6 separate regions of the Homo sapiens genome follow, and regions 2, 3, 4, 5 and 6 are each linked to region 1. The links are contacts of gene promoters, found by promoter capture Hi-C in blood cells and fetal thymus (Javierre and others, 2016). All regions are on one chromosome and are shown on one strand. Each heading gives the region's core, a stretch centred on a gene start or on the middle of the fragment in contact. The rest is flanking DNA. Distances are from core to core; before and after follow the strand shown. Region 1 holds the start of ZNF222 (zinc finger protein 222). Region 2 holds the start of ZNF112 (zinc finger protein 112). Region 3 holds the start of ZNF285 (zinc finger protein 285). Region 4 overlaps ZNF180 (zinc finger protein 180). Region 5 overlaps ZNF235 (zinc finger protein 235). Region 6 overlaps CEACAM20 (CEA cell adhesion molecule 20).

Evidence for each region. The method cuts DNA at HindIII sites, captures the fragments that hold promoters and counts their contacts. A CHiCAGO score of 5 or more calls a contact.
Region 2: a fragment that was not itself captured here is called in contact with the fragment with the promoter of ZNF222 in region 1 in 1 of 17 cell types (megakaryocytes); the score reaches 5.2 in megakaryocytes.
Region 3: the fragment with the promoter of ZNF285 here is called in contact with the fragment with the promoter of ZNF222 in region 1 in 6 of 17 cell types (fetal thymus, erythroblasts, total B cells and 3 more); the score reaches 8.8 in fetal thymus.
Region 4: a contact is called between a fragment that was not itself captured here and the fragment with the promoter of ZNF222 in region 1, in 4 of 17 cell types (M1 macrophages, monocytes, erythroblasts and 1 more). The highest score is 6.2, in M1 macrophages.
Region 5: a fragment that was not itself captured here is called in contact with the fragment with the promoter of ZNF222 in region 1 in 3 of 17 cell types (non-activated CD4 T cells, naive CD8 T cells and monocytes); the score reaches 5.9 in non-activated CD4 T cells.
Region 6: a fragment that was not itself captured here is called in contact with the fragment with the promoter of ZNF222 in region 1 in 1 of 17 cell types (M0 macrophages); the score reaches 5.9 in M0 macrophages.

Annotation. Positions count from the first base shown.
Region 1 is chr19:44,023,900-44,028,068 of GRCh38, forward strand. It overlaps ZNF222 (zinc finger protein 222), which reads left to right and starts at 1,480. Exons shown (of 4, transcript NM_001129996.2): 1 at 1,480-1,579; 2 at 3,124-3,250; 3 at 3,499-3,591. The coding sequence starts at 1,538. ZNF222-DT (ZNF222 divergent transcript) reads right to left here and starts at 1,383. Exons shown (of 3, transcript NR_184028.1): 1 at 1,216-1,383; 2 at 999-1,120. RefSeq lists enhancers at 1,446-1,495, 1,726-1,775. The HindIII fragment of the contact is 1,542 bases long and covers 1,295-2,836 here.
Region 2 is chr19:44,353,290-44,357,378 of GRCh38, forward strand. ZNF112 (zinc finger protein 112) reads right to left here and starts at 3,391. Exons shown (of 4, transcript NM_013380.4): 1 at 3,337-3,391. RefSeq lists an enhancer at 3,200-3,700. The HindIII fragment of the contact is 552 bases long and covers 1,620-2,171 here.
Region 3 is chr19:44,399,404-44,403,429 of GRCh38, forward strand. It overlaps ZNF285 (zinc finger protein 285), which reads right to left and starts at 2,205. Exons shown (of 4, transcript NM_152354.6): 1 at 2,165-2,205. RefSeq lists an enhancer at 1,602-2,358. The HindIII fragment of the contact is 3,728 bases long and covers 1,858-4,026 here.
Region 4 is chr19:44,484,981-44,489,145 of GRCh38, forward strand. The region is part of intron 2 of ZNF180 (zinc finger protein 180); the gene reads right to left. Among named protein-coding and RNA genes, the nearest start is that of ZNF180, 13 kb to the right of the region's middle. The HindIII fragment of the contact is 7,682 bases long and covers 1-4,165 here.
Region 5 is chr19:44,294,070-44,298,103 of GRCh38, forward strand. The region is part of intron 4 of ZNF235 (zinc finger protein 235); the gene reads right to left. It also overlaps the pseudogene NDUFA3P1. Among named protein-coding and RNA genes, the nearest start is that of ZNF235, 8.9 kb to the right of the region's middle. The HindIII fragment of the contact is 6,273 bases long and covers 1-4,034 here.
Region 6 is chr19:44,506,350-44,510,397 of GRCh38, forward strand. All of the region lies in intron 11 of CEACAM20 (CEA cell adhesion molecule 20), which reads right to left. Among named protein-coding and RNA genes, the nearest start is that of ZNF180, 7.9 kb to the left of the region's middle. The HindIII fragment of the contact is 794 bases long and covers 2,402-3,195 here.

The sequences.
Region 1 (4,169 bases), core at 230-2,729:
CTATGCAGAACAATTAGATAGAAAAAGAAAATAAAGCTATTAAAATTGGAAACAGAGGTAAAATTGTCTATATGCTAATGACATGTTCTTATATATAAAAATTCTAAAGAATTCACAAGAAAAAAAAACTCTTAGAGCTAGTAAAGTCAGAAAGTTGCAGGAAAAATATCTACATAGAAGAAGCAGTTGTATTTCTATACAAAAACAATTAATCTGAAAAGGAAAATAGTTCCCTTTGCAATAGCATTAAATAAATAAATTACTTAGGAACTGTCTTAACCAATGACAAGAAACACTTGGACACTGAATTTTGCAACATCTTACTAAAGAAAATTAAAGAAGGCACCCCAGGCATGGTGGCTTATGCCTGTAATCCCAGCACTTTGTGAGGCCCAGGCAGGCGAATAACTTGAGGCCAGGAGTTCGAGATCAGCCTGGCCAACCTGGTGAAACCCCTGTCTTCACTAAAAATACAAAAATTGGCCAGGTATGGTGGTACGTGCCTGTAATCCCAGCTACTTGGGAGGCTGAGGCAGGAGAATCGCTTGAACTCAGGAGGCGGAGGTTGCAGTGAGCCAAGATTGTGCCACTGCACTCCAGCTTGGGCGACAGAGTGAGACTCTGTCTCAAAAAAAAAAAAAAAAAAATTAAAGAAGGCGCAAATAAATGGAGATATATCCATTATTAATGGATTGGGCGACTTGATATTGCAAGGCTGTCAATACCTATATCTATAGATTCAATGCAATCCTTAATCACAGTAACATTTTTCTCAGAAATGAAAAAATCCACCTGAGATTCATGTGAAATATCAAGGGACACTCTCTCCCATGGTCATATTTTAGACCTCGTCATTTTCTAGCAAATATTCCTCCATAATAATTTGCAGCACTACTCTCCAACAACTTTGACTTGTATTTCCACCTTGGTCCCACCAGCATGCTAGCATCAGTAATATTAGAACCTCGCCAATACCTACAGTCCACTGAGACGATCACCTTTTTACTCTTTCAACTCCTCGTGTACTCACAGCCTGCCAAGCACATTTCTTGTCAGGAGAGGACAGCTCACTTCTCCTAATGTCTCACTTCCCAAAATTGTGTCCCATGAAAATTTCTAGCTAGATGAAGGCAGAGAAAGAAAATATTTGATTTCTTAGGCTTTATGGAAGCGATAGGAATGGCAATAGTGGTTTGGAATGGAGACTGCACGCACCAGTCAACAGGGTGTGTCCCGAATAAGCAGTGGGTAAAGGACATTTACTGAAATGCTATCTCCAACTCCACTTCAGGAAAGCTTGCTGCAGAGTTAGAGTGATATAGTCCAAATGCTCTGTTTGAGTCGCGGGCCCTTTGTCTCACACGGGCGAGTCCGGGGAATTCTGGGAAGTGGAGTCCACACGCTCTGTGGAGGCTCGAGCACTTCCGGTCCCCAACTGTGACGTTGCTATTTCATTTACCACAGTAGTTTGAGTCATTTCCACATCTTGCGAGTCCTTCCGAACGAGTCTCCTTTCCTTGGGGCTCGCAACCACCCAATGATCGATTCAGGAGAAAAGAAGCCTGGGCGGAGAGCAGAGGTTTGGAGGGGCGCGGGCGGGGATTGCCGTTCCAGTCAGCTGAGCCTTCTGGCGTCGGGGGGCTCTGCTAGGGTCTCAGGGAGTGGGATTGGCGCGGCCCGGTGTGCCCTACTTTGACCTCGCTTAGTCCGCCTCCCTCCTCCCTACGTGTGCAGCCCCTTTCAGTGTGGTGTGGAGTGTCACTTAATGTCCGTTTATCTTCCATTGCTGGTTCGTTTGTTTGTTTGTTTTGTAACGGGACTTTTCGGACCATCCTAATGGATTCATTTTGGGACCTGAAAGAGGTAACACAAATGAGAGCCTTAAAAGCAGTCCCTGTCACTCGGTGTCTGGTGGTCTCTTGTTAATTTCCCACGAAGCCTGTCAGGTCCTCTGGTGGGGTCAGAGCTCCAGCTGCAGGGGCGCCGGCCCTTCTGCCTGATCCCTGCAGGACGCTGGATGATCCCTGACGCCTTCTGACCTCTTTTTAGGAAAGTGAGGGGAGCATTTAACTTTTATGGGGGACGGCAAAACGGTCAGGGTGTTTCACAGCTTTCTTTTTCCCCAGCCCGACCTTTCTAAAAGAGCTGCAGGAAGGGACTTCTTGGCTACTGATGGCAAAGCTCTACGTGAGTGATCCTTGGCTTTTTTTCTTTGACAGAGATGCTTACCTCAACCGAGAGTGTGTAGGATTTGTCCCTCGGGCATGGGTGTCGATAATGATTAAGCCTTAATTGGTAACTTTATTCCAAGTACTTTATACCCCAAAATACATGATCTTCACAGTGGCACTGTGGAGAGGTGCTGCTTTTTTCATTTTAAAGATGGGCGTGAGACACAGGTGGAGCAGGAGTTGAAACCTAGGCAGTCCAGGTTAGAGCCTGAGTTGATCATCTCTTGAATGCAATTCTCATTGAGGCAGAGGTACTAGCTGGGAACAGGTGGAGAACGTAAGTTAGGACTTGATTGAAGGCACCTTGAGGCAAGGCTCAGGGGCTTGGACTTCTATAGGAGTTTTTGTTTGTTTGCTTTTTGCTTTTTAATTTTTTTAACCTTATCTACTATTTTCTTTCTCTCTCTCTCTCTATATATATATATATTTTTTTTTTTACAGAGTTTCGCTCTTGTTGCTTAGGCTGGAGTGCAGTGGTGCAATCTTGGCTCACTGTAACCTCCGCCTCTCGGGTTCAAGTGATTCTCCTGCCTCAGTCTCATTTTCGTCAAAGGGCCCGCGACTCAAACAGAGCATTTGGACTATATCACTCTAACTCTGCAGCAAGCTTTCCTGAAGTGGAGTTAGAGATAGCATCTCAGTAAATGTCCTTTACCCACTATTTATTCAGGACACACCCTGTTGACTGGTGTGTGCAGTCTCCATTCCAAACCCCTATTGCCTAATCAGTCATTGTCAGGACACAAACAGAATAAGTAGGAAATCTATAAGCTGACCTATGTCTCTCAAGATCCAAAACAACTTTACACTTGTCCCTTGTGCCAGTGCAATGCTGCTGTCTCCCAATAGTCTTTGGCCGTAAGATTGAGGTGACATCTGCTTGATGTTGTAGGAGGCAGTGACCTTCAAGGATGTGGCTGTGATCTTCACTGAGGAGGAGCTGGGGCTGCTGGACCCTGCCCAGAGGAAGCTGTACCGAGATGTGATGCTTGAGAACTTCAGGAACCTGCTCTCAGTGGGTGAGGACGGGCACCCCCTGTAATGGAATGTCAGGCCCCAGGAGTGGTTTTTTAATCCTAGGGTTTTCAAGTTTGAGTGTGCAGTGAGAACCTACATTTCCAGTAAATTTTGCCTGGCTATTAGGTTGGTGCAAAAGTAATTGTGGTTTTTGTCATTGGAAGTAATGGTACACTGCAATTACGTTTGCACCAACATGATATTACCTTGAACATGTTGGGATTAAGCATGTGACTTTGCCTGTTCACAGGGCATCAACCATTCCATGGAGATACTTTCCACTTCCTAAGGGAAGAAAAGTTTTGGGTGATGGGGACAACAAGCCAAAGAGAAGGGAATTTGGGTAAGAACCAAGCAATTGTGTGTCCCTGCATGTGATTCCTGTTACTTCTGTCCATGCCCATTTCCAGCATTTTGGGGTAAATGGCCAAACCTGTTTCCTGGATTATTACAGCCTTCTCCCTGCTGATGCCCCTGCTCCCACCCTTCCCACCCTGCCATCTGTTCTTACGGTAGCCAAAGTGATCCGTAGGAAACGGAAGTCACATTGCCATTCCTCAGCTCAAAGCCTTTCTGGCTTCTTGTTTTTATTAGTGTTACAACCTCTTTAAGTGGCTTTTGTAGACCCTGTGATCTGCCCTTCATCCCACACTGTCTGACTGCATCTCCTGTCCTCTCCCCCTTGCTCCATCTTTTCCAGGCACCTTGTCCTCCCTGCTGTTTCTCTATCCTGCCAAGGACATTGTATTGCCTATTGTGGCCGGTGACATAAAACTCAGCAGACTGAACAAGAAACACTTATCTTTCTCTTCTGTAGGCCTGAAGTCTGACACATCTCACTGGGCAAAAATCAAGTGGTCTTAGGGCTTTGTTCCTTTCTGGATGTTCATGGGGAGAAGACTTCATTTTGGTTTACCAGTC
Region 2 (4,089 bases), core at 646-3,145, 330 kb after region 1:
TAAAACTTCTAGAACAAGAGAAAATCTTCACGACCTGGGGCTAGGCAGACTTCTTAGATATGACATCAAAAGCACAATCCAAAAAAGATAACATTGATAAATTAGATGTAATTAAAATTAGAAATTTTGTTCTGCAAAAGACACTATTAAGAGAATGAAAAGACAAGCTACAGGCTGAGAAGGAATATTTGCAAATCACACATCCAACAAAGGACTTATATCCAGAATATATAAATAGCTCTCAAAAATCAACAATAGGAAAAATATAACCCAATGTAAAACTGGGCAAAGCATGCATACAGACACTTCCGCAAAGAAGATATAAGGATGGCAAAGAAACAATAACAAAAAAAGAAATATCTGCTGAACACCATTAGCCATTAGGGAAATGTAAATTAAAGTCACAATGCTTAGAATGGCTAAAATAAAAAAAAATAAGGAAAATACTAAGTGCTGATGAAGATGTAAATAAACTGGAACTTTCTACATCATTAGTGAGAATGCAAAATGGTACAGATACTACAGTTTGGCATCTTATAAAGTTAAACATACATTCCCCATATGATCCAGTAACCACACTCCTGGCTTCGTACCCTACAGAAATAAGCACAAAAAAAACTGTACATGAATGTTTATATCAGCTCTATTCATAAATGCCAAAAAGTGGAGGAAAAAGTCTATCAACCAGAGAATAGATAAACTGTGATACATCCATAAAGTGGACACTTCTGTTAACCAGAAGTAAACAGAAATGAAGTATTGATACGTATAACAACTTTGATGAATGTCAAGAGCAATTTGCTGAGTAAAAGAATCCGGTCTCAAATGTTAACATATAGCATCAGTTCATTTATACGACATTCTCAAAAAGACAAAACTATAGCGTTTTAGTGGTTATGGTAGTTGCCAGTGGTTACAGGTATGGTGAGGGGTAATTATGAGGGAAGACATGAGGGGAGTTTTTGGGGTGATGGAACTGTTCTTTTTCTGACTACGGTAGTCGTTATACAAACTATGCCTGTGTTGTAATAGAATTGTATACCAAAAATAACAAAATAGTCAATGTCACTGTAAAAACATTTTTTAAAAACCTGTTTTAAAAACCTGGAAACACAACCTCAGTTATAAGGCATGGTCTATAAATGTTGTTACCATTTCTAACAATTTGTTTCTTAGGAATTTTTTTAGATTATCAAAACATAACCAATCATTGCTCTTCAACTCTTCAATACTCTGAAATAGTTGGTGGATTATATAACCTACCAATATTAAGTGAGATTAAGGAATATATCCAGGGGTTATTTCTATTCTATTTTGATACCTAATTCCAATTCCACACTGCAAATCCTTGATGCCAGCTGTCTGTTGAGTAGCTACTCTAACCATAAACCCTTAACAACCTTGTACGATGTGCTGGGCACATGGAGAAAAGTATGACATGGTCCCAGAAATAGAAGAACTTTCAGTGTATGGATTTAGATAAAGAGAAATAAGAAACAAAGAGCTATAAGACTTAGGCAAGGCAAACTCTATACTGGAACACAAAATTCATCACCATCCTTCTCCAAGGTACAATTCTCTTGCATCCCCTAGCTTCCTCAAGTAAGGACCATTCTGTAAGCTTCAACGAATGAAAACCTTAGAGTAGCTGCTGGCATTTCCCTTTCAAAGTCTTGGATATAAGCAATTTATGATCATCAACGTTTGGCAATTATGACAATCAATCAAACGATATTATACTAAGTCGATGTTAGAGATTTGCTTTAAAATACTGAAACAAAAAAAAAAGGGACAGGGAGTTGATACAAGACTGGCAAATGTTAACAAAGGTTGAAGCTGGGTGACGCTTCCACAGAATTATTTTAGTCATATTACATTTGGCTATGCTTACAAATTTCCATAGTAAAAACTTAAGGGAAAAATAAAAGCTATGAAGCCTATTTGGTTAAACATGGGTGAAAATCCAAAAAGAAGTCTACTGGAAGAGGAAAACATTGAAATATTAATATTGTTACTGTTATATCTTGTGGTTAGCATAATTTTTTTCTTTTACACTTTCTATACTTTCTTAATCTTTTACAATATGCAATAATTTATATAATCAGAATATGAACTATAAATATTTCAAATAAAATTAAATTACAGATAATTTTAAAAAATCAAAAATTCAAAGCTTATTAACCTTGCTTTCACGGTCCTCTAGTAAAATCCAAATATGTGTTCTGAAGCTGATACTAAACACATCAAGAACTAAGGCAATGGATGGAAACTATTTGAATTCAAATCCCAGCTCAGGCTCTTACCACCTGGGTGACCTAAAGATAAACCACCTATGCTCTATGTCTGTTTGCTTATCTTTAAAATGGGAATGGTGGTACCCAACCCAGGCTCAAAGGGCTCTTGTGAGGATTAAAGATGTTAATTCATATCAAACTCTTAGAATGATCAGCACTAAATGTTTAAATACTATCTTTATTACTCATGCCCAAGTACTCCCTCATCCGTTTCTGCATTTATTGAACAAATATCAGCGCATCTTCGAGCAGAATTTGCCAGTGAATGATGGAAATATCGTCTTCCCTGAAAAGAAAGGATGATAAGTACTACTCAGGTGAGACTCCGCTGCCAAGTGCCAAAGGGTCATTCCCTCCTTCTCCCTGCAGCCTTTTTCAAGAAGTCAAGGCTAAAGAAGGAAAGGAGGATGGGGGAAATCAGAACTCCTGCATGAATTACAATGGACTACCCAGACAGCCAGGAGTGATCCTGTCCTAAAGAAAAATCTCTCAGTGATCAGAAAAGGGCCAGGGATACTCTGCAGCTGGAGCTCTGACCCCATCCTGGGTTCACAGAAGCTTTCAGGGAACTGAGTCCTTCTCAGAAAATTAAAAAGTGCTAATAACAAGAGACCCATCTTCTACCACCTGTCAGGCTCTGTTCCAAGTCTTTTTATTTAACTCTCAAAAGAACTCCATTAGATAGATACTAGTACCATTTTAAAGAAAAAGAAACATAGGCAGAGAGATTAAGATACTCGCCTGTTATTATACTGCTAGGAAGTGGCAGAGCTGGTTGATGGTCAGGGGAAAGGGCTGGGGAAGTACAGAACCCAGGAGATCCCCAGTCCCTGCGATGTAGGATCTTGGACCCCCGGCGCTAAGTGGGGATGCGCCAGCTGCCCCACACTGGAGAAGGCTCATTCAAAGATAACACAAATCCCGCCCTTCGCCGCAAGTGGATTATCCTCCCCTAGAGCTACTGCCCGGTTGCTACTGGACCCCAACAAAACGAACATCAGTATGGACGGAAGGAGCAGGAAGCAGGGCGGGGAGCGCTCACCTTTCTGGGAGGAACGAAGGCCGCGGCCTAGCGTACCTGGGGCGGAAGTGGCTCTGCCTACCGAGACCTCCTGGACTACGCTTCCCAGAATTCCCGACGGGATCAGGGAGACGGCCTCAGCCTCCTAGAGCGGAAGTTACCCGACTACACGGGGCTCCCAAACTACATTTCCCAGAATTCCTAGAAAAACTCTCCACTTATCTGCCTGCCTAGGACGCAAGTACCGGGTGCCAAGCTGAGAGCCTGGATGATATTTCACATGTGCCGGTCCCAAAGGAATTCCTTAACTCCCCCTTCCTGGAACCGAAATGCTTCCAAAGACAGAGAGCTCGTATATATATTTCTCTGTTTTACCCAGCGGACCGTGCATGAAAGGCGCCTTTCCTGGCGCGTGTGTCTCTGACCCTGTGGATCTTCTGGACAATTCCCGGAATTTCTTGCAGGGTAGCACTTTCCCTTAAGTCGTCTCTTTCTCGTTTGGATAGTCAGTATTTGTATAGTCACTATTCTCTTTTGGTTAGCCATCCAATTTTATACTGCTAGTCCAGTTCTACTGCCTTCCCCCTAGAGTTTGAATTTATTTTTCTTCAAACGCGACACAAACCCAAATAAACTCAACCAAAGCGGACTTTACCTACCTACCTACCTACTTACCAAGAAAATATCCCATAAAGGAGAGAACAGAGAAGCTTGCAATACAGGAAGAAAAAAGAAAAGAATTACAGAATGGAAGCGATGTGTGCGCTAAAAATG
Region 3 (4,026 bases), core at 955-3,454, 380 kb after region 1:
ATAACCAAGCTGTAGTCTTTTATCCACTGTACTTGGTAAGGATCTTATCATTTAACAAGCACTCAATCAATGTTTCTCAATATTAACAAATGCACAAATAGAATTGGCTTGGATATTATACATTAGATGCACGTGCAAAGACATAAACTCACCCTCTACTTCCAGTACCTGTTCTCACTGAAGAGCCAATAATGGGACAGGTTTATTTTGAAGCACACATCCACACACATGCACTCACACATATATGGTTGGGGGTTTGGTTTCCTGAATTTCTGGCTTCAGACACTACCTGCCTGTATCAAGTCAGGGCCGTGGCACGAACCAGACGGCACATTGAAATTTGAGGAGAGTTTAATAAACAGACGGCTTACAATGGTGTTGGCTCGGGGTAAGGAAATCACAATGGATAAGGCTCTATCCTGGGGAGTGACAGGGAGGTGCCATTATAATACCTGGGCCTTAAGAGGTAAGGGGAGGGAGCAGTCCCTGGAGCCTGGAACTAAGAGGACTGTGTGGCCAGGGCCACCCAAACTATGACCTGTTGTTTAGAAGGGCAGCTAATCTGTGACAATCCTGCAGAGAGAGAACTGGGGGACAAGATACTCCAACTCACACTTCTTCCTCTCTCCAAACTTTCCTGTTGAGACTTCCCATTGGCCAAAGACAAGCAAGGCCAGAAGGCAATGGCGGCCTTTCAGGGCAGACAGCAGGGTGGAAAAGGTGGGGAGCCAAAGGCATGGGACACATGGCACCTCAAGACTCTTGTTTTTTCCCTATCTGCCAAAGTCCACACAGCTCTCGCACACAAATGCCTTTCTCATCCCTCACCCTGACAACTACTCTGATCTGAGGAATGCATCAGGAATGAGACCAGATGCCCATATCAACTTCTTCAGGGAATGAAGACCTAGAGGAAAAGTGCAGCTGAATCTGGAACTGCAATTGCCCAGAAACACGATCAGAAATGTAATAAATGCTGCTATTACACCTAAAATAATTAACACTAAATCTCTAACTTTATCAAATATACAGAGAGTGTTCAAACTTCAAATTTGTTGAGTGTAATTTAACAACTTATATTTGCTAATGTGCTTTATAATACTCAAAGTCCCTACTCCCTGGCTCACAGCATGTGAGGTGAGAATGGAGTTAATAATTTGGGGCAGTTCTTTTCTTTTCTTTTTTCTTTGAGACAGAGTCTGGCTCTGTCGCCCAGGCTGGAGTGCAGTGGCGTGATCTCAGCTCACTGCAAGCTCCGCCTCCCGGGTTCACGCCATTCTCCTGCCTCAGCCTCCCGAGTAGCTGGGACTACAGGCGCCTGCCACCGTGCCCGGCTAATTTTTTGTAATTGTTTTTTGTAGTAGAGACGGGGTTTCACCGTGTTAGCCAGGATGGTCTCGATCTCCTGACCTCGTGATCCGCCCACTTTGGCCTCCCAAAGTGCTGGGATTACAGGCGTGAGGCACCGCGCCAGGCCTGGGACAGTTCTTTTCAAAATGTATTCGGTGACATTAAACTCTGGAGTTATTACAGTATTACAGTCTGAGTTGTTTCTTTATTGCCAAAAGCCAGAACCTCTGCCTTGAAGTCATAAATGCCCCAATGGAGTCAGAGCTGCCAAAATCCAGAGTTCAGACCCAAGACAACTCCCCATCCAAGAACCTAGGGGTGCTGAGCCAGAATCGCCCCCACCAAACTGAGCGAGAACAGCCGAAGCCATCCTCTATATCCAGAGACTAGCTGCTTAAGCAAATCCCTCATCCCATTCAGGGACGCACAGTCCAGCCATTACTCCAAAACCCTGAGCCAGCGCCCCTCTGCCCTCATCCAGAGATGCACATCCCAAGACTGACCCTAAGCTTCGACCCGAGGAGGCACAGCGCAAGTCGCTGTCACGAAACGTGAAGATGCACTGTTTTGTCAAACCCAGGGCTGCTCCCCAAACCGAGCCCACGCTCGAGCCCACGCTCTTCCCATCCTATCCCGGGTAGGTCGGGCCGCTGAACTTCCCTAGTCTACCCCACCTACGAGGCCTTATCATTGGTTACCAGTCCCCTCTTCCACTCCTCCTACTTCAGTCCACAGGGACGGGTCACAGCTGCACATCCTACACTCCTACTCCTGGCTACGCCTCCAAGAGGGGCGCGGTACAGACGGGACTCACCCCAGCGTCCCAAACAATGTCGCCCGCAGCGTGCGTCCAGTACCATGGCGCATGCGCAAGGAGGCCTATGGCCTACAATCCCCAGAAAGCCCCGCGCGCAGCAGTGGCCATTCGCAAGGCTACCCTGGTGAAGGTGGCCTTTGACTTCCGTGCATTTGGAAGTCCTTTGACTTCCGTGCATTCGTCTAAAATAACGACAATCATAATAACGATAAAATAATGAAATGTTAAATAAATCACTATCAACGATGAAAAGAAGTTTCAATATTTTACTACTTGGAAATGGGCACTTTACCGTTTTAGTGAAGACTTTTATAAGTTCTTATTTTATAGGCATGTCTTTTAACGTTAAAACCACGAAACTTTTCAATTAACACTCACTTAAATAATTCCCTCCCCGCCCCCCACCATGTTTTATTTCTGTTGATGAAAACTCTGGATAATCTACACTTGCGATATAACATAGCCCTGTAATTTATTTCCTAGTCTCAGAAGAAGCAGAAGGAATTAACAACTATTGTCTGAATCCTTAACAGGGGAATTGCAGGAGTACTGAGAGTGTCCTAAAAGAGACACATTACAACATAACAAGAAAACGCGGGAAGTTTTCAGATTCTTTTTGAAAATTTGCCCTTGTTGAGACTTAGGCTTTATTTTACTTCATGTTATTGCATTTAAGATTTAAGATTTCTATTAAAGAAAAATTTGGGTACCCTAAATGGGGTAAGAAAATTGAATAGGAATTCCATTAGAGGCCCACAGTTTTAGCCTGGAGGAAAGCCCTGATAACGTGTGAGAACAATCTGTCTCCTAGGAAAGGTCACCTGGTCCTGCTGGCAGAGTCTCTGTTTGGAATATCTGGCTGGCATTCCCTTTTCCACGCACCCTCAAGCTGTAGGGGTGGTGAGGCGGTTCCAGTCCTAGACTAGATAGAGAAGTGAAGACCCCCACCTCTACGCAATGGGCAGGAAATGGTTGAATAATATCCAACTATAGCTTGACATCGCAGCTTAGGGCACATAAAGGGACAGTGCAATTGTTTTGGCTTATCTCTGTCTTTTGATGTTTACATGTTTGATGTTCTTATATATTGCTCTAAGTTGAAGGATTACTTGATTTAATTTGACATACTTGAATTTTAAAAAACGAGTTCAGGAACATTTTTATTTTTGACCTAATACAAGGTTAATTTTTGTGACATCTGTGTCTGTTGGAAAACAATGTGTCTTCTCTATCAGATGGATATGCATACATTTATATTTTCCCCAGACTTGCTAACTGTGCTATTTAAATTTCCTACATGCTTATTTGTGCTTACTTAGATTTTTTCATTATGCATCTGTCAACGATTGAAAAGTGCATGTCAAAAAGGTTCCCAGTCTGGGCGTGGTGGCTCAAGCCTGTAATCTCAGTACTTTGGGAGGCCGAGGTGGGCAGATCACGCGGTGAGGAGTTCAAGACCAGCCTGGCCAAGGTGGTGAAACCCCATCGCTACTAAAAATACAAAACTTAGCCAGGCATGGTGGCAAGCACGTGTAGTCCCAGCTACTTGGGAGGCTGAGGCAAGAGAATCACTTGAACCCAGGAGGTGGAGGTTGCAATGAGCCGAGATCATGCCACTGCACTCCAGCCTGGGCGACAGAGCAAGACTCTGTCACCAAAAAAAAAGAAAAAAGAAAAAAGTGAAAGAAAAAAAAGCCTATAATGGTAAATTTGTCATTTTCCTCTCTATAGCATTTGCTTTATTTATTTATTTATTTATTTATTTATTTATTTCCTTTATTTTTTTTTTGAGACTGAGTCTCGCTCTGTTGCCCAGGCTGGAGTGCAGTGGCGCCATCTCAACTCACTGCAAGCTCTGC
Region 4 (4,165 bases), core at 1,269-3,768, 460 kb after region 1:
TGAAACCCCGTCTCTACTAAATATACAAAAACTGGCCGGGCATGGTGACACGCACCTGTAGTCCCAGCTACTTGGGAGGCTGAGGCAGGAGAATCACTTGAACACAGGAGGTGGAGGTTGCAGTGATCCAAGATCATGCCACTGTACTCCAGCCTAGGCAACAGAGCAAGACTCCATCTCAAAAAAAAAAAAAAAAAAAAAAAAGTCTAGCAAAAGGTGCCACATGATCAATAAGAATCTATACTATTAAGACTTCTTCCAAATCAGTAAAAGGTAGCCTCAACTGACAAAGAAAAATGCACATGCAACTATGAAGAAACTGCTGTGAATATACAAACAGATGCTCGCCTCTTTACATCAAAATCAAACATCTGTTTCTTTATCTGTATATATTAGAGACCATAAGTTCACATGGATACCTCCAATTACAATTCAATAACACATTTTATTCTGTCTAGCTTTTCTCCTTTCTTTATGTATACTTTCTTTCTCTGGCTCCCATTTTCCTCTTTATATTTACTTATTTGCTCAAGCCCTGTACATAACCAACATCCTGACCACGTCGGGTGTTTTTGTGACAGTCACAGTCATTAGTCTGTTGCTAATGACTCCAGCTCTGGCAGCCCACTGGCCAAGAGCTTCATATATTCTTAGAAGAAGTATAAATTGATACAACCCTCCTGTATTGGCTATATATTAAATATCTGTATTTACAAATACTGCTTTATTTTGAAATCCTTAAAGATTCACAAGAAGTAGCAAAAATAGAGCCACACTCAGCTTTCCCTGGTAATATCATATATAATGACAGTACATTGTCAAAACCAGGAAATTGAAATTTTGGTACAATATTATTAATTCATGTACAGAGTTTATTCCATTTTTATGTACATTCTTTTATTTTTGTTTTTTTAAAGGCAATATTTTTAAAAGTGTAATGTAACATCCATTAAGTCTACTTGTAAGTACTTATCCTTAGGAAATAACATAAAGTACATCAGGATGCATATACAAGAAACCTCATTAGCAAGTTACATTATCATAGCAAGATGGGAAGGGAGACTAAATGTCCACTAGGAAGTGCCTGGTTAAATAAATTATGCTTTATTCAGATGACTGAATATTATTTAGCAGCCAAGAGAAGAAATAAATTTGCATGTACCGATACATATAAATAATAGAAAGATGTCTATAATATATTGCTGAGTGAAAAAATGAAGAACATTATACAGAAGATGAATAGATTTCTATAAAATATAAATATGCACGGAAAAATCTGGAAAGATGTTCTCAAAAGCATTAAAAGGAGTTATTCTTTGAAGGGGTAGAACTGAGGAGCAGGTTCACTGTCTCTCTTTTAATGCTGCATCCATGTTTTTCAAAACCACTTATTTTAATTAAATATTTGGAAACCAGGAAAGGTGCTTCCCTCTTTAAAAATCACCTTGAAACAACGCAATTCCTTTGTAGTGTCCTCAGGTTTTTTCCTACAGGATACAATAATTCAGTCTGTTAAATGATAGCCCATTCAAGGATACTTTGCTCCTCCTCAAATCAAACACTGAAAAGCAACTACTGCTAATTTTTGATAACTCATTTCTTTAGAAGCCATTGGATCAAAAACTAAAAGAAAATAAAAGTGGCCAGGTGCAGCAGTTCATACCTGTAATCACAGTGCTTTGGGAGGCTGAGGTGGAAGGATCACTTGAGCCCAGGAGTTCGAGCCCAGCCTCAGCAACACAGTGAGGCTCCCCTGTCTATACAAAATATATAAAATAGGCCGGGCATGGTGGCTCACACCTGTAATTCTAGCACTTTGGGAGGCCGAGGTGGGCAGATTGCCTGAACTCAGGAGTTCGAGACCAGCCTGGTCAACATGGCGAAACCCCATCTCTACTAAAAATACAAAAAAATACAAATTAGCTAGGTGTGGTATACCTGTAGTCCCAGCTACTTGGGAGGCTAAGGCATGAGAATCACCTGAACCGGAAGTTGGAGTTTGCAGCAAGCTGAGACCATGCCACTTCACTCCAGCCTGGGCAAGAGAGTGAGACTCCATCTCAAAAAATAATAAATAAATAAATAAATAAATAAGCCAGGCACGGTGGTATGTGCCTACAGTCCCAGCTACTTGGGAGGCAAAGATGGGAGGATCACTTGATGTGGAGAGGTCAAGGTATAAGTGTGTCAATTTTTTCTCCTTATCTATCTAGAAAATATTTTACTATTACAGTAGGAATGGTTATTAAAAATGGCTAGCATTAATGTATTTAAAGGTAGGAAAGGATTCTCCAAACCTAAAAACACCACTGTATATTTACTGGGTAGGTTGTGAGGTTCACAATAAGTATCAAAGAGCCAGAGCTGCTGCAATGTAAAGAAGGCCCAATGTGAAAGCCAAGAGGTTGTGTTGCTTGCATTACTACCACACATACTACAACAGTTAAACTGCCTTTTTATTTTTTGTAGAAGACAGGGTCTCGTCATGTTGCCCAGACTGGTCTCAAACTGCTGGTCTCAGCGCCATGACAGTTTTGTCAGGAAGTTACCCTCTATGGTCTAAAAAGGAGAGGAACCCTCAGTTCTGGGAATTGCCCACCCCAGTCCTGGAAAACTCATGAATAATCCACCCCTTGTTTAGCAGAAAATCAAGAAATAACCATAAAAATGGGCAACCAGAAGCCCCTGGGGCTGCTCTGCTTATGGAGTAGCCATTCCTTATTCTTTTACTTTTTTGTTTGTTTGTTTGTTTTGGTTTTGGTTTTGAGACAGAGTCTCGCGCTGTCCCCAGGCTGGAGTGCAGTGGCATGATCTCAACTCACTGCAACCTCCACCTCCGGGGTTCAAGTGACTCTCCTGCCTCAGCCTCCTAAGTAGCTGGGACTACAGGCGCACATCACCACGCCCAGCTAATTTTTGTATTTTTTGTAGAGATGGGGTTTCACCATGTTGGCCAGGATGGTCTTGACCTCTTGACCTTGTGATCTGCCCACACTGGCCTCCCAAAGTGCTGGGATTACAGGCGTGAGCCACCGTGCCCAGACTACTTTTAAAAATAAACTTGACGCCCTCGCCCTCGCCCTTGCCCTCTCCCTCTCCCTCTCCCCACGGTCTCCCTCTCCCTCTCTTTCCACGGTCTCCCTCTCCTTCTCTTTCCACGGTCTCCCTCTCCCTCTCTTTCCACGGTCTCCCTCTCCTTCTCTTTCCACGGTCTCCCTCTCCCTCTCTTTCCACGGTCTCCCTCTCCCTCTCCCTCTCTTTCCACGGTCTCCCTCTCCCTCTCTTTCCACGGTCTCCCTCTCCCTCTCTTTCCACGGTCTCCCTCTGATGCCGAGCCGAAGCTGGACTGTACTGCTGCCATCTCGGCTCACTGCAACCTCCCTGCCTGATTCTCCTGCCTCAGCCTGCCGAGTGCCCGCGATTGCAGGCGTGCGCCGCCACGCCTGACTGGTTTTCGTATTTTTTTGGTGGAGACGGGGTTTCGCTGTGTTGGCCGGGCTGGTCTCCAGCTCCTAACCTGAGTGATCCGCCAGCCTCGGCCTCCCAAGGTGCTGGGATTGCAGACGGAGTCTCGTTCACTCAGTGCTCAATGGTGCCCAGGCTGGAGTGCAGTGGCGTGATCTCGGCTCGCTACAACCTCCACCTCCCAGCTGCCTGCCTTGGCCTCCCAAAGTGCCAAGATTGCAGCCTCTGCCCAGCTGCCACCCCGTCTGGGAAGTGAGGAGCGTCTCTGCCTGGCTGCCCATTGTCTGGGATGTGAGGAGCCCCTCTGCCTGGCTGCCCAGTCTGGAAAGTGAGGAGCGTCTCTGCCCGGCGGCCATCCCATCTAGGAAGTGAGGAGCACCTCTGCCCGGCCGCAACCCCGTCTGGGAGGTGAGGAGCATCTCTGCCCGGTCGCCCCATCTGAGAAGTGAGGAGACCCTCTGCCTGGCAACCGCCCCGTCTGAGAAGTGAGGAGCCCCTCCGCCCGGCAGCCGCCCCGTCTGAGAAGTGAGGAGCCCCTCCGCCCGGCAGCCACCCTGTCTGGGAAGTGAGTAGCGTCTCCGCCCGGCAGCCACCCCGTCCGGGAGGGAGGTGGGGGTCAGCCCCCGCCCGGCCAGCCGCCCCGTCCGGGAGGGAGGTGGGGGGGCCAGCCTCCCGCCCGGCCAGCCGCCCCGTCCGGGAG
Region 5 (4,034 bases), core at 393-2,892, 270 kb after region 1:
TAAATAAAATAGAGAACCATGGAACCATACAAAGGATCAATGAAACGAAAAGCTCGTTTTTATCTCTGAAAAGATAAAATTGATAGACTGCCAGTAAGACTAGCCAAGAAAAGAGAAGATCCAAATAAACATAATCAGAAATGAATGAGACATTACAACTAATACCATAGAAATAAAAAACATGATCAGACACTCTTATGAACAATACACTTGAAAACTAGAAATTCTAGAGAAAATGAATTCCTGGAAACATACAACCTCCCAAGATTGAGCCCATCTGGCTCCCAAGATTGAGCCAGGAGGAAACAGAAATCCTAAACAGACCAGTAATGAGCAGTGAGATTGAATCAGCAATGCAAAACCTCCCAAGAACAAAAAAGCCCAGGACCAGACAAAGGTACACTGGAATTCCACAAAAGGTACAAAGAACTGGTACCAATTCTACTAAAACTCTTTCAAAAAATCTAAGAGGAGAGAATCCTCCCTAACTCATTCTAGAAAGCCACTCTTGCTCTGATACCAAAGTCAGATAAAGACACAACAAAAAAAGAAAACTACAGAGCAATATCCCTGATGAATGTAGATGCAAAAATCCTCCAAAAACAAACACAAATCCCCCCACAAAACCCCCCAAACCAAATCTAATAGCACATCAAAAAGATAAGCCACCATGATCGAGTGGGTTTTATTCCAAGGATGCGAGAATGGTTCAACATACACAAACCAATAAATGTGATTCAGCCTATAAACAGAATTAAAAACAAAAACCACATGATCATCTCAACAGATATATAAAAACCATTTGACAAAATTCAGCATCCTCTCATGATAAAAACCTTTGACAAACTAGGCACAGAAGAAACATATTTCAAAATAATAAAAGCCATATATGACAACCCATAGGTAACATACTGAATGGGGAAAAGCTGAAAGCATTCCCCCTAAGAACTGGAATAAAACAAGGATTGCCCACTTTCACCACTCCTATTTCACGTACCACTGGAAGTCCTAGCCAAAGTAATCAGGCAAGAGAAAGACAGAAAACCAATCTAAATTGGAAAAGAGTAAGTCATTTAATATCTCTGTTTTCTGACAATCTGATCTTATACCTACAAATCCCTAAAGACTCCTCCAAAAGAATCCTAGATTTGACAAATGACTTCAATAAAGTTTCAGGATTAAAAAAAATCAATATACAAAAGTCAGTAGCATTTCTATACGACAATAATGATCAGGCTAAAAACCAAATCAAGAACACAATCCAATTTATAGTATCTACAAAAAAATTAAAATACCTAGGAATGTATTTAACCAAGGAAGGGAAAGATCTAACCAAGGAAAATTATGAAACAATAATGAAAGAAGTTGTAGATGACATAAAAAAAATGGAAAAACATCCCATGTTCATGGATCGGCAGAATCAATATTGTTAAAAAGACCATACTGCCCAAAGCAATCTACAAATTCAATGCAATGGCTATCTAAATACTAATGTCATTTTTTGCAGAATGAGGAAAAACAATTCTAAAATTCATATGGAACCAAAAAAGAGCCTGAATAGACAAAGCAATCCTAAGCAAATAACAAAGCTGGAGGCATTACATTACCTGACTTCAAATTACACTACATGGCTATAGTAACCAAAACAGCATCGTACTGATATAAAAATAGATACACAGATCAATGGAATAGAAAAGAGAACCCAGAAATAAGTCACATACCTACAGCCAACTGATCTTTGATAAAGTCGAAAAAAACATACACTGGGGAAAGGACATCCTATTGAATAAATGGTGCTATTTAATCCATCTTGAGTTCATTACCTGAGATCTCCAGAGATCCATAACAGATTCTAATAATAGCCATTCTGGCTGGTATAAGATGATATCTCACCATTGTTTTAATTTGCATTTCTAGAAATCACTGGTGATTTCAACCACAGGAGGCAACCTGAAAAAGCTCCAAGTGGTCAAAGTAGAAATAACTTGGTAACAAAATAAACAATGCAATACTGGATTATAACACGAAGTATAAATAAATACATATGAGCCCATACTGATTATAAAATGGATAGTAAGTGACAATAAGGAGTTACTGTTGTAGATAGACACTGATAAATCTATGGGTGATATGACATTCTCCAGCAAAAAATAAAAGGGAAAGATAAAACAGGAACAGCAGAAAGTTGATAACTGCTAAGACAGTATGGATATACAGAGTCTATGGCATTATTTACTTTTCTATGTTTTTTAAGTTTTCAAAATAAAAAGTTTAAAGTCATAGGAAAACAAATAGGTCATCCAAATTATGTGTATGTTGGGGGAAGGGTGGAGAAGCAGAAATTATCCATTTAAACTATCAGTCAATTTTCATTAACAGAAAAAGATGTAAAATGAATGTTAAAACTGAACTGAATGGTGGGATTACAAATGGCATCCTACTAAGTCATTTTTGTCACATATCTCCCTCAGTTTGGTGGATTAGATGATATCTTAACAAAGGACATAAGCAATTTTAGAATTAATCAATTTTCTATGTTTTATACATTTTTGAAGTATATGGACCTAACAAATATATACACGTAGACTATGATTATACAGAACACTCCACCCAATAACAGCAGAATACACATTTTTCTGAAGTACATACAGAACATTTTCTAGGATACACCATATGTTAAACTACAAAAAAGCCTTAATAAATATAAAAATATTAAAATCACACAAAGTATCTCTGCTGATCAAAATGAAATGAAACTAGCAATGAATAGCAGAATAAAACCTGAAAATTCCATAAATATGTGAAAATTCAACAATACACATACAACCAATAGATCAAAGAAGAAATCACAGGGGAAACTAGAAAATATCTTGGGATAAATGAAAACGAATCCACTGCAAAAACAGTGCTAAGGGGGAAATCTATAGCTATAAATGGTTACAATGAAAAGGAAAAAGGTCTCAAATCAACATCATAACCTTATACCTTAAGGAAATGAAAAAAGTAACAAGCCATCGCCATTACCAAGACCAAGATGGCTGCAAGACTTGCTGCCTTCTTCAGGAATGCCTGGGCCAAGCAGCCAGTGCTGGCTGTGTCCTTCACCATTGCAGGCCATGCTATAATTCTGCCCCCACTCAGCCCCTACACCAAGTATGCCATCATGATCAACCAGGCCACACCCTACAATTACCCAATGCCTGTCTGAGATGATGGGAGCATGCCTTATGTGTCCAGCCACCCCCAGGACTCCTAGGGCCCAACCCTGGAGTGGCTGAAGAAACTGTGAGCATCTCCACTGACAGGGAGGAGGACCCTCCCCAGTGGCTCCCAATAAAAATGTGAAAAGCAAAAAACAAAACCAAATTAAACCCAATACTGACAGAAGAAAGGAATCTAACCTTTTTTTTTGAGACAGAGTTTCGCTTTTGTTGTCCAGGCTGGAGTGCAATGGTGCGATTTCGGCTCACTGCAACCTCTGCCTCCTGGGTTCAAGCGATTCTCCTGCCTCAGCCTCCCGAGTAGCTGGGATTACAGGCATGTGCCACCACGCCCAGCTAATTTTGTATTTTTAGTAGAGACAGGGTTTCTCCATGTTGGTCAGGCTGGTCTCGAACTCCCGACCTCAGGTGATCCGCCCACCTTGTCCTCCCAAAGTGCTGGGATTACAGGCATGAGCCACCGCGCCCAGCTGGAAGATGGTATTTTAAGAAAGCCTCTCATGAAATGATTTCTGAGCAGAAGCATGAATGAAATAAGGAAGAGGGGCTGGGCGCAGTGGCTCACATCTATAATCCCAGCATTTTGGGGAGGCTGAGGTGGGCAGATTGCTTGAGTCCAGGAGTTCAAGAGCAGCCTGGGCAACATGGGGAAACCTCGTCTGTACAAAAAATATAAAAATTAGCTGGGTGTGGTGGTGCACACCTGTAGTTCCAGCTACTCAGAAGGCTGAGGTGGGAGGATTGCTTGAGCACAGGAGGTGGAGACTGCAGTGAGCCGAGACTGTGTCATTGTACTCCAGCCTGGGCAACAGA
Region 6 (4,048 bases), core at 1,549-4,048, 480 kb after region 1:
CACTTTAGTAACCCTGGCACATCTCTGTTCCTGGAATGGCCCATGTACTTCCCCACTGTGGTAAACAGACTCTAAAGTGGTCCCCATAATCCCTGCCTCCTGGTATTCATTCCTTTATGTAATCTCCTCCCCTTGAGGGCAAGACCTGTGACTTGCATCTAACCAATAGAATATGGCAAAGGTGGCAGGATATACATGATTGCATGTATGTGATTCTGTTACATAAGATTATGACTTCTGTCTTGGCTTGAAGAAGCAAGATGCAATGTTGTGAGCTGCCTGTGGAGAGGGCCACATGGCAAAGAACTGAGGATGACCTCCAGCTGACAGTAAGAAACTGAGGCCCTCATTATGACAGCCTGCAAGGAACTGAATGCTGCTAATGACCACATGAGCTTGGAAGTGGATCCATCCCCAGCTGAGCCTCAGATGAGACCTGGGCTTTGACTGGCACCTTGATTATACAGCCTTGCAGAAGAGCTAACTAAGCAATGCCTGAACTCCTGACCCACAGAAACTGTGAGATAATGAATTCATGTTGTTTTAAGCTGCAAAGTCTGTGGTAATTCATTATACAGCAACTGATAACTCTACACCCTCTTCAGGGCCTTTTTTACTGATGCCTCTCAAGTTGGAATGTTTCCTTTCATACTGTTTGCATGGTTTGCTCCTTCTAATCCCTCCAGAATGTAGCAGACACTGAGTTCACTGAGTTGACTGACCTAACCTTCTTCCCCACACCACCTCCCTTGCTTGCTTCTATTGAAGAGGCTGGGAATGTTAATGTACCACTTTCTCAGCCTCTGTTGCTACAAGGAGCACCATATGACCTTATTCTGGCTAATGAGATATAAGAGGAAGCTTACTAGGTGGTATTTCTGGGAAGACCTTTTGCCCGACTAATAATAGGAAACAAACATGGCTCCCCTACGCAGACACTGGTGAAGAGAGGGACTTAGGTGGCTAAGTTTTTACCAGTTCAAAGCTGATTAGAGAGCTGACAAAACTAAACATGATCCATACCATGGCCTGAATCAATCTGATTCTTCTATGGAGAATTTGAACCTAGAAATGCTTAAAGGGCAGCAGAAGATGTTGTTATATATACTCTGAAGTTATAGAGAAGCAATGACCAGGACATTTACATAGAAATTCAATCTGGATTGAGAAGAATGAGATGAATTCATAGATTAGTGAAAATGAGAAACTGTATAATAAGAGAGAAACAGCTTCTTGATAGCATTCAAGTCGCCAAGAGGCCCAGGAGTAATTTCTGAAATTGAGTTATCTGATATTTCTCAGTGTTCTCTCAATTAATCCCCATTCGAACTACATTCAAAGGGTTTAACTTTCTTAACATTAAAAATTCTTGACTAAGATATTAATATATGAAACATTCAGCCAGGTGCAGTGGCTTGCGTCTGTAATCCCAATACTCTGGGAGGCCAAGGTGGGATGATCGCTTGAGCCCAGGAATCTGAGGCTGCAGTTGGCCATGATCGCACTACTGCACACAACCTGGGTGAAAGAGCAATACGTTGTCTCAAAAAACTAAAAAGGTGTATAGGATATTCACATTTTTCAAGAATAGTTATCTGTCTGTTAGGCTAAAATCTACCCTTCTTTTACCTATCCTCCATGGTAATTTATGTGCCCTCTGGAACAACAAGGAACACATTTATCCCTCTACTTGAAGCCTGTCAGACACTAAAATATTGGAGTTCTCTGTCCCTAAACTTTCTCTTTTCCAAACCCAAGAAAACCCTGTCAGTAGGACATGGATTTGAGCCCCTGTTCTGGCCTCTCTCTTATTCCTCCTCTGGATAAATTCTGACTGGTCACTGGCTTGTTCAGAATATAGAATCTGAAGTCCATTCTTGGAATTGGAGTAATCTGGCTGTCCTGATGACAGGGTTGAGATCACTTGCATTCTCTAAAATAATTCTACTAGTCCTTAGAACTATGGAGCCATCACTTGACTGCTCTAAACTTGTTACTGGAATTTTGCTTATGCCTGGATGAACTAATAGTTTTCTTCTTTTTTATTTTTTTCTTTCTGAGACAAGGTCTTGTTCTGTTGCCCAGGCTGGAGTGCAGTAGCTCGACCTCAGCTCACTGCAACCTCCGCCTCCCAGGTTCAAGTGATTCTTCTGCCTCAGCCTCCCAAGTAGCTGGGATTACAGGTGCCTGCCACCATGCCCAGCTAATTTTTGTATTTTCAGTAGAGACAGCGTTTCACCATGATGGCCAGGCTGGTCTCTAACTCCTGACCTCAAGTGATCTGCTCGCCTCCACCTCCCAAAGTGCTGGGATTACAGGCGTGAGCCACCGCGCCTGGCCCAGTTTTCTTCTTTTTGAATGATGTAACTAATCATACCTCTCTGTTTTATTGTTACCAGGAAGCTTAGAGACACATAAGAGATATAGTGGCAGATATCACGTAGGCCCAGTATATATTTTTACTTTTTACCCATATATTGACTTCTTGCTATTGTTAAAAATATTTTTTCTGATTGTAATTTCTATTTCTAATTTAACACCATTTTGTAGTGTTGTATATAAACTGCTTCAAATCTTCCATGGGAAAAACTGCTTCAAATCTCCCATGAGAAAAATGTGGGGAAGTAAATATCATGAATGAAATGAAAGATTGGAAAGGAAAGGAAATGAATGAAAAGGAATAGACTATTTAGGAATGTAACTGAAAGAGATGGCAAAGGCATAAATGAAATGGAGGGAAATTGAATAGGACAGAAAGGAATACAATAAAAATTAAAGGCAGAGAATGGAGTGAAATAAAATGGCATGATGTCCAAAGAAGTGCAAATGAAAGAAATTAAATGAAAAGGAAAATTGTAACAGAAAGAAAGAAATAAAGTAAAATAAAATGGAGCAGAAAAGAGAGTAATAAAATAAGGTAATGAGGGGAGAGAAGTGGAGAGGAAATTAGAGAAAAGTAATATAGTAGAAGGAAAGTATAACATTAAAGAATAAAAATAAAGCAACGAAATTAAAAAAAAAACAGAAAAGGGGGGAAATGGAATGCCATGGAATATAAAATAATGAAATGAAATGAAACTGAAATCAATGGTATAAAGAGTAGGAAATGCAAAGGACTGGAAAGAAATGGAAAGAACTTAAATGAAATGAAAAGGAGTGGAATGGAATGACTTGAAAAGAAGAAATTAAATGGAAAGCTTGAAAAGGAAAGTAATAAAGACAAGGGAATGAAGTGCCATAAAGGGCATGAAGGGAGAGGATGAAGTGAGAAAACATGCAGTAGAATGGAATGGAATAGAATAGAGTGGGGTGGATTGGAAAGAAATGAAAAGGGAAAGGAATTGAAGAGAACAGAGGGAGAGGAATGGAAAACAGTGAAATAGAATTGAATGAAAGGGAAGGGTATGGAGAAGAGAAAGTGAATGGAAAAGAAAGAAGGGAATGGGAAAAAAGAAAAATTGAATGGAAAAGAAATATAAAGAATAAGAACTGGAATGTAGTGGAATGAAGTGAAAACCAATCAAATGGAAATGAATGTAAATAGGGACATTGCCTAGGAAGGAATGGAGAGGTAGGAAATAGAACGGATGAAATGGATTAAATATATGGATGGAAATAAGAAGACTGAAATGGGATGGGAAGAATAAGAATGGAAACGAAATAAAGTCGTGGGATGGGAATTGAGTGGGCTGGAATAAAACAGAGTGTAATGGAATGTAAAATAAATGAATTGAAAGGAATTAAAAGAAAAAATAAAAATGGATAAAATGCAATAGAAAGAAAGGAAAAGAATGAAAAGGAATGAAATAAGAAAGAGATGGAAAGGAGTGTAAAGGGATCAAACAAAGCTGAGTGGAATGGAATGAAAAGGCATGGAATGAGCCAGGCAGGGTGGCTCATTCCTGTAATCTCAGCACTTTGGGAGGCCAAGGCGGGCAGATCAATTGAGGTCAGGAATTCAAGACCAGCCTGGCCAACATGGTGAAATCCCGTCTCTACCAAAAAATACAAAAATTAGCTGGGTGTGATGGCTCGTGCCTGCAGTCCT